2 separate regions of the Homo sapiens genome follow, and region 2 is linked to region 1. Evidence: promoter capture Hi-C in human tissues and cell types (Jung and others, 2019). All regions are on one chromosome and are shown on one strand. Each heading gives the region's core, a stretch centred on a gene start or on the middle of the fragment in contact. The rest is flanking DNA. Distances are from core to core; before and after follow the strand shown.

Region 1 (2,957 bases), core at 197-2,696:
CTCCCAAGGTGCTGGGATTACAGGTGCCAGGTACTGCTCCCGGACAGCCCTTTCTCATTTAAGCTTGGTTATTGGTTATTTTTAAAAAATAATTTTTCTTAAGTGCACCTGTCTTTTTTTTTCTCCCTCCTCAAATCCTCCAGGAAATGGCAACTGCTGACAGGAAGTTTGGCATCCACCTCCCCCAGCCTCCTGAGTGGACAGGGGCCCTGGGCACCACTTCAGAGGTCGGCCAGCACACGCTTGGTTTCTGGGGTACAGTAGCCAGCCCGTGGGTCTCTGCAGGCGGAGACTGAAGCACTCTCTGCCTTCCTGCTTTATAGCAGGAGATCTGAGAACTCCATTCACATCCAGTCACAAGGAGCCCTCAGCGCTCTTTCTAGATCTTTTGAGGAGAAACTGTTATTTTTGTTAACCAAACCTTGAGTGGTCAGTGTTTGCAAAGCTTTCCAGTGAGATCTAACCTCATATCATAGTTTTTGTGTGATGTTGAGCCCTGTAATTTCAAGTATGGTCATCCTTGGTATCCTGCGGGAGTTGGTTCCAGGACCCCCAGGATGCCAAAATCCAAGGATGTGTAAGTCCTTGATATAAAGTGGTGTAATGTTTGCATATAACCTATGCACATCCTCCATATGCTTTTAAATCATCTCTAGGTTACAAGGTTACATATAATACCTAATACTATGCACATAGTTGTTACACCGTATCACCTGGGGAATAATGACAGAAAAGAAGTCTGTAGATGTTCAGTACAGATGCAACCATCCTTTTATTTCTGACATTTTGATCTGAGGTTGGTTGAATCCATGGAAGCAGAGCCCGTGGATACAGAGGGCTGACTTCGTTTCTAAACGTCTGGGATCACAGACAGTCCCATTGCTTAGGACTAGTGAGAGAGCATGTGCCACTCACTGGTTTAAATCTCAATTTCAGTAAGCCTCTCTCTCAAATGCATTTAAAAGTTTTTCCAGTTGTTATGAATTCAGCGTTTCACCGGTTTTTAATGTAGATAGTGCTCTAGAAATAGAGCTTTGTGGCAATTCCTTATTAGTTCTTAAGTTTAAGTTTTTACAATAAAAAGTGATTCAAGAGCCAGGTGCGATGGCCCACACCTGTAATCCCAGCACTTTGGGAGGCCGAGGCAGGTGGATCACCCCAGGTCAGGAGTTCGAGACCAACCTGACCAACATGGCGAAACCCCGTCTCTACTAAAAATACAAAATTAGCTGGGTGTGGTGGCGCATACCTGTAATCCTAGCTACGTGGGAGGCTGAGGCAGAAGAATTGCTTGAACCCAGGAGGCGGAGGTTGTGGTGAGCTGAGATTGCGCCATTGCATTCCTCCAGCCTGGGCAACAAGAGTAAAACTCCGTCTCAAAAAAAACAAACAAAAGTTAGCCAGGTGTTGTGGCAGGCACCTGTAATCTGAGCTACTCAGGAGACTGAGGCTGGAGAATCACTTGAACCCAGGAGGCAGAGGTTGCAGTGAGCTGAGATCGTGCCACTGCACTCCAGCCTGGGCGACAGAGCGAGACTCCATCTCAAAAAAAAAAAAAAAAGAATACTTTTAAGGGAAACTAAAGAGCAGCAGAAGTAGTCTGGCGTCTGTAAACTAGTCATACCAGTATTAACTAATGGTGGTATGTGATTTCTCAGTAGATGTTAAGAAAATACTTTTGCTGGGTATGGTGGCTCATACCTGTAATCACAGCACTTTGGGACGCCAAGGTGGGCAGATCACTTGAGCTTAGGGGTTCAAGACCAACTTTGGCAACATGGCAAAACCCTGTCTCTACCAAAAATACAAAAAATTAGCCAGCTGTGGTGGTGGGTGCCTGTAATCCCAGCTACTCAGGAGGCTGAGGTGGGAGGATCACTTGAGCCCAGGAGGCAGAGGTTGCAGTGAGCCAAAATCACGTCACTGCGCTCCAGCCTGGGTGACAGAATGAGACCTTGTCTCAAAAAGAAAAAAACAAAATACTTTTACCCTGTCTAGTTGTGCCAAAATCCTTGCACAGTGACAAGCTTTCAGGTCTGCCATCAGTAATTGGCATGTACTCTGTGCTTGTAGGGCCATGAAGCCCCCAGGAGGAGAATCGAGCAATCTTTTTGGAAGTCCAGAAGAAGCTACTCCTTCCAGCAGGCCTAATAGGATGGCATCTAATATTTTTGGACCAACAGAAGAACCTCAGAACATACCCAAGAGGACAAATCCCCCAGGTATGGGCCTTTGGAAATCCTTAATCCTTTGGCCTCCACGATTCTCTTTTGAAAATATTTTCTGTTTCTTTATACTGATCCTTTCCCATATTGTCTGGTTCAGGTAATCACTTGTTATCAGAGTTCTTCCAAAATGAAAACGTTCTGATTTGTACTTTCTCTCTTGAAGGTGACTTGAGTAGTCTTGAATTCTCCATCTGTTCTGGAGACTTTGGTTGAATACAGGCACTGAGGACACAAAAGTGGACGGGGGCTTCTGGTTCCTGCCAGGGAGCTGCTCCCAATTGTTCCACGGACCCCCATGAGATTCCTGAAATTGCGTGCAAATTATTGTGCATTTAAACATTTTTCCTAGGGAGGGAGAGTGTTTTTATTCAGATCGTCAGTGGGATTGAAACTCTTAACAAGGAAGAATTGATCTAGCACACATCTACATAGTTCTTCAGTATTTACCCAACCTCCTAGTGGTTACAGTAGGAGGGACTCTTTGAAAAAGGTTTCTTGGCCAGGCGCGGTGGCTCATGCCTGTAATCCCAGCACTTTGGGAGGCCAAGGTGTGCAGATCACGAGGTCAGGAGATCGAGACCATCCTGGCTAACACAGTGAAACCCCATCTCTACTAAAAAAGAAAAAAAATTAGCCGGGCGTGGTGGCGGGCACCTGTAGTCCCAGCTACTCAGGAGGCTGAGGCAGGAGAATGGCATGAACCCAGGAGGCGGAGCTTGCAGTGAGCCG
Region 2 (2,548 bases), core at 49-2,548, 270 kb after region 1:
CTGGAGCAGGGGGCGGCGCTCGTCGGGGAGGTTCGGGCCGCACAGGAGCCCACGGAGTGGGGGAGGCTCAGGCATGGCGGGCTGTAGGTCCCGAGCCCTGCCCCGCGGGGAGGCAGCTAAGGCCTGGCGAGAGAAATCGAGCGCAGCGCCGGTGGGCCGGCCTGCTGGGGGACCCAGCACACCCTCCGCAGCCGCTGGCCCGGGTGCTAAGCCCCTCATTGCCCAGGGCCGGCAGGGCCGGCCAGGCTCTCCGAGTGCGGGGCCCGCCGAGCCCACACCCACCTGGAATTCGCGCTGGCCCGCAAAGCACCGCGCGCAGCCCCGGTTCCCGCCTGCGCCTCTCCCTCCACACCTCCCCGCAAGCTGAGGGAGCCCGCTCTGGCCTTGGCCAGCCCAGAAAGGGGCTCCTCAAGTGCCGCCAAAGTGGGAGCCCAGGCAGAGGAGGCGCCGAGAGCGAGCGAGGGCTCTGAGGACTGCCAGCACGCTGTCACCTCTCACTGTTTGTCTGTAGGGTTGATGGTTCTGTGTCGCTGGCCTCAACCTCAGGACAGGACATGACCAGTGTCCCCCCTGGATAGCAGCCAGGGGCCGTGCCAGGTGTGGAGACTGAAGATGTGGCCAGCAGGACCCTGCTCAGTGGAGCTGCCTAGAAGCACCAGAGTGCCCCAGGGCCAGGATGGAACCATCAAAGCCGGCCAGAGGGCCCTGTGCCCAGGGTAGGTGCCTTCTCCCTATGAGCCGCCTAAGGGCAAGCCCTGCCTCCTGGTCTGCTCCCTGCCCTCCCCCAGACAGGCTCCCAAGTTAACTGGCACCAGCCAGTCCATGAGGGGCCCTTGTAGAGAGCGGGGCCCAGAGAAGTCTGTAGGGACTAGGCAATCCAGGAAAGCTTCCTGGAGGAGTAGGGTGTTTGGAATCGCGTGCTATTTGTTCACTTTGTCGTGTGCGCTCTAACGGCCTGTGTTCTCCATCACAGTTTATCTTATTCCCTGCTGCACTCAGCACAGTGCCTGGCGCGCAGTGGGAACCGAATGACCCCCTCCTATTCCTTATGTCAGTTGCCTTTTGTCTGTTTCTTTCATCGTAAGCAGGAATCTGTCCGGTTCGCGGCTGCTTCCCAGGCGCCCAGACCAGCGACCAGCACCGCGTAGGCGCTCGGCACAGACCGAGAACGGAGGCCCCACGCGGGGGCGCCCTGCGGCGAGGCGGGTCCCGGCCGCGCCCGGCGGAGCCGGGGAACTACAAGTCCCATGGTGCATCGCGGCGCCAGCGCGCAGACGCAGCCGCCCTCGGCGTCCTCTGTAGCGGGCGACCTAGGCCGCGGGACCCGGACGGAGGTAGAGGCCAGGGCAGCGCGTCCGGGAGCGGAGTCCGCGCCCGCCGCCGCCATGCCGGACAGCTGGGACAAGGATGTGTACCCTGAGCCCCCGCGCCGCACGCCGGTGCAGCCCAATCCCATCGTCTACATGATGAAAGCGTTCGACCTCATCGTGGACCGACCCGTGACCCTCGTGAGAGGTACGAAGCCCCAGCCCGGGGCTCCCTCGCCGGCCTCTGGGGACCCCTGGATCCCACACCCTGCCTGGATCCTCCAATGCCTCCGGGGTCCCGTCTGCCTGAGACCGCCCCCCGCTGCACCCCGGGGACAACTCCCCACCCCCGGAGACCTCCGAGCTCCGTCGCCTCCTTTGGCCTCCCACTGCACCCCGGACCTCACCTCCCAGGATCCCTTACTCTCCCCTGCACCCCGGGATGCCCCGCTTCTTCCCAGGACTCTTCCCTCCCTGCCGCACCCAGCGCCCACTGCCCCAGGACCCCGCACTGCTCTCCGCCCCCCGCCGCCCCGGGCACCCCTCCACTGCACCGCTGGCCTCAGGCCTCTCTCAAATGTCTCTCTGCCGGATGACCAAGTGTCGGGGTGATGGCCGAGATGCCCAAATTCAGCATCTCTGGAACGAACCGGGAAAATGCCCAGTTCAGTTTTTGTTGTTTTTTTTTTTCCTGAGACAGTCTCACTCTGTTGCCCAGGCTGGAGTGCAGTGGCGCGATCTCGGCTCACTGCAACCTCTGCCCCACCCCGGGTTCAAGCGATTCTCCTGCCTCAGCCTCCCCAGTACTAGGATTACAGGCGCACCACCACCACGCCCAGCTAATTTTTATATTTTTAGTAGACACGGGGTTTCACCATGTTGGCCAGGCTGGTCTCGAACTCCTGACCTCAGGTGATCCTCCCACCTTGGCCCCCAGGTGCTGGGATTACAGGCCTGAGCCACCGTGTCCAGCCTGGTTCAGTTCTTTTTGAACACTTGGGGTGCATAGCATGCTCTGGTGGTTCTTCCGTAAGAGGGTGAAGTCTCCAAATCAAACCCCCAAAGATCTGGAAACCGTGCAACAGCGGACCCAGCTCCCTCTCTTTTGTAGCAGTTGTAGAGCATGTCTGTCCTATGTGTCTGGATGTTCGAGCTCTCCTTTTAGCTCGTTCATTTCCCAGTGAGGAAGCTGAGGCCGTAAGGTGGTAAGTTCTGCTTGCTGGAGGCTCCCTGTTGGAGCC

Evidence for each region. Contacts are between HindIII fragments. The study calls those that stand out against the background at their distance.
Region 2: the fragment with the promoter of NDUFB10 here is called in contact with a fragment that was not itself captured in region 1 in 1 of the 25 tissues and cell types used here (dorsolateral prefrontal cortex).

What each region holds. Positions count from the first base shown.
Region 1 is chr16:1,683,366-1,686,322 of GRCh38, forward strand. It overlaps JPT2 (Jupiter microtubule associated homolog 2), which reads left to right. Exons shown (of 5, transcript NM_144570.3): 2 at 2,074-2,222. Among named protein-coding and RNA genes, the nearest start is that of JPT2, 6.6 kb to the left of the region's middle. The HindIII fragment of the contact is 5,684 bases long and covers 1-2,957 here.
Region 2 is chr16:1,958,240-1,960,787 of GRCh38, forward strand. It overlaps NDUFB10 (NADH:ubiquinone oxidoreductase subunit B10), which reads left to right and starts at 1,299. Exons shown (of 4, transcript NM_004548.3): 1 at 1,299-1,515. The coding sequence starts at 1,386. RefSeq lists an enhancer at 1-356 and silencers at 1,079-1,388, 1,819-1,928. The HindIII fragment of the contact is 2,906 bases long and covers 266-2,548 here.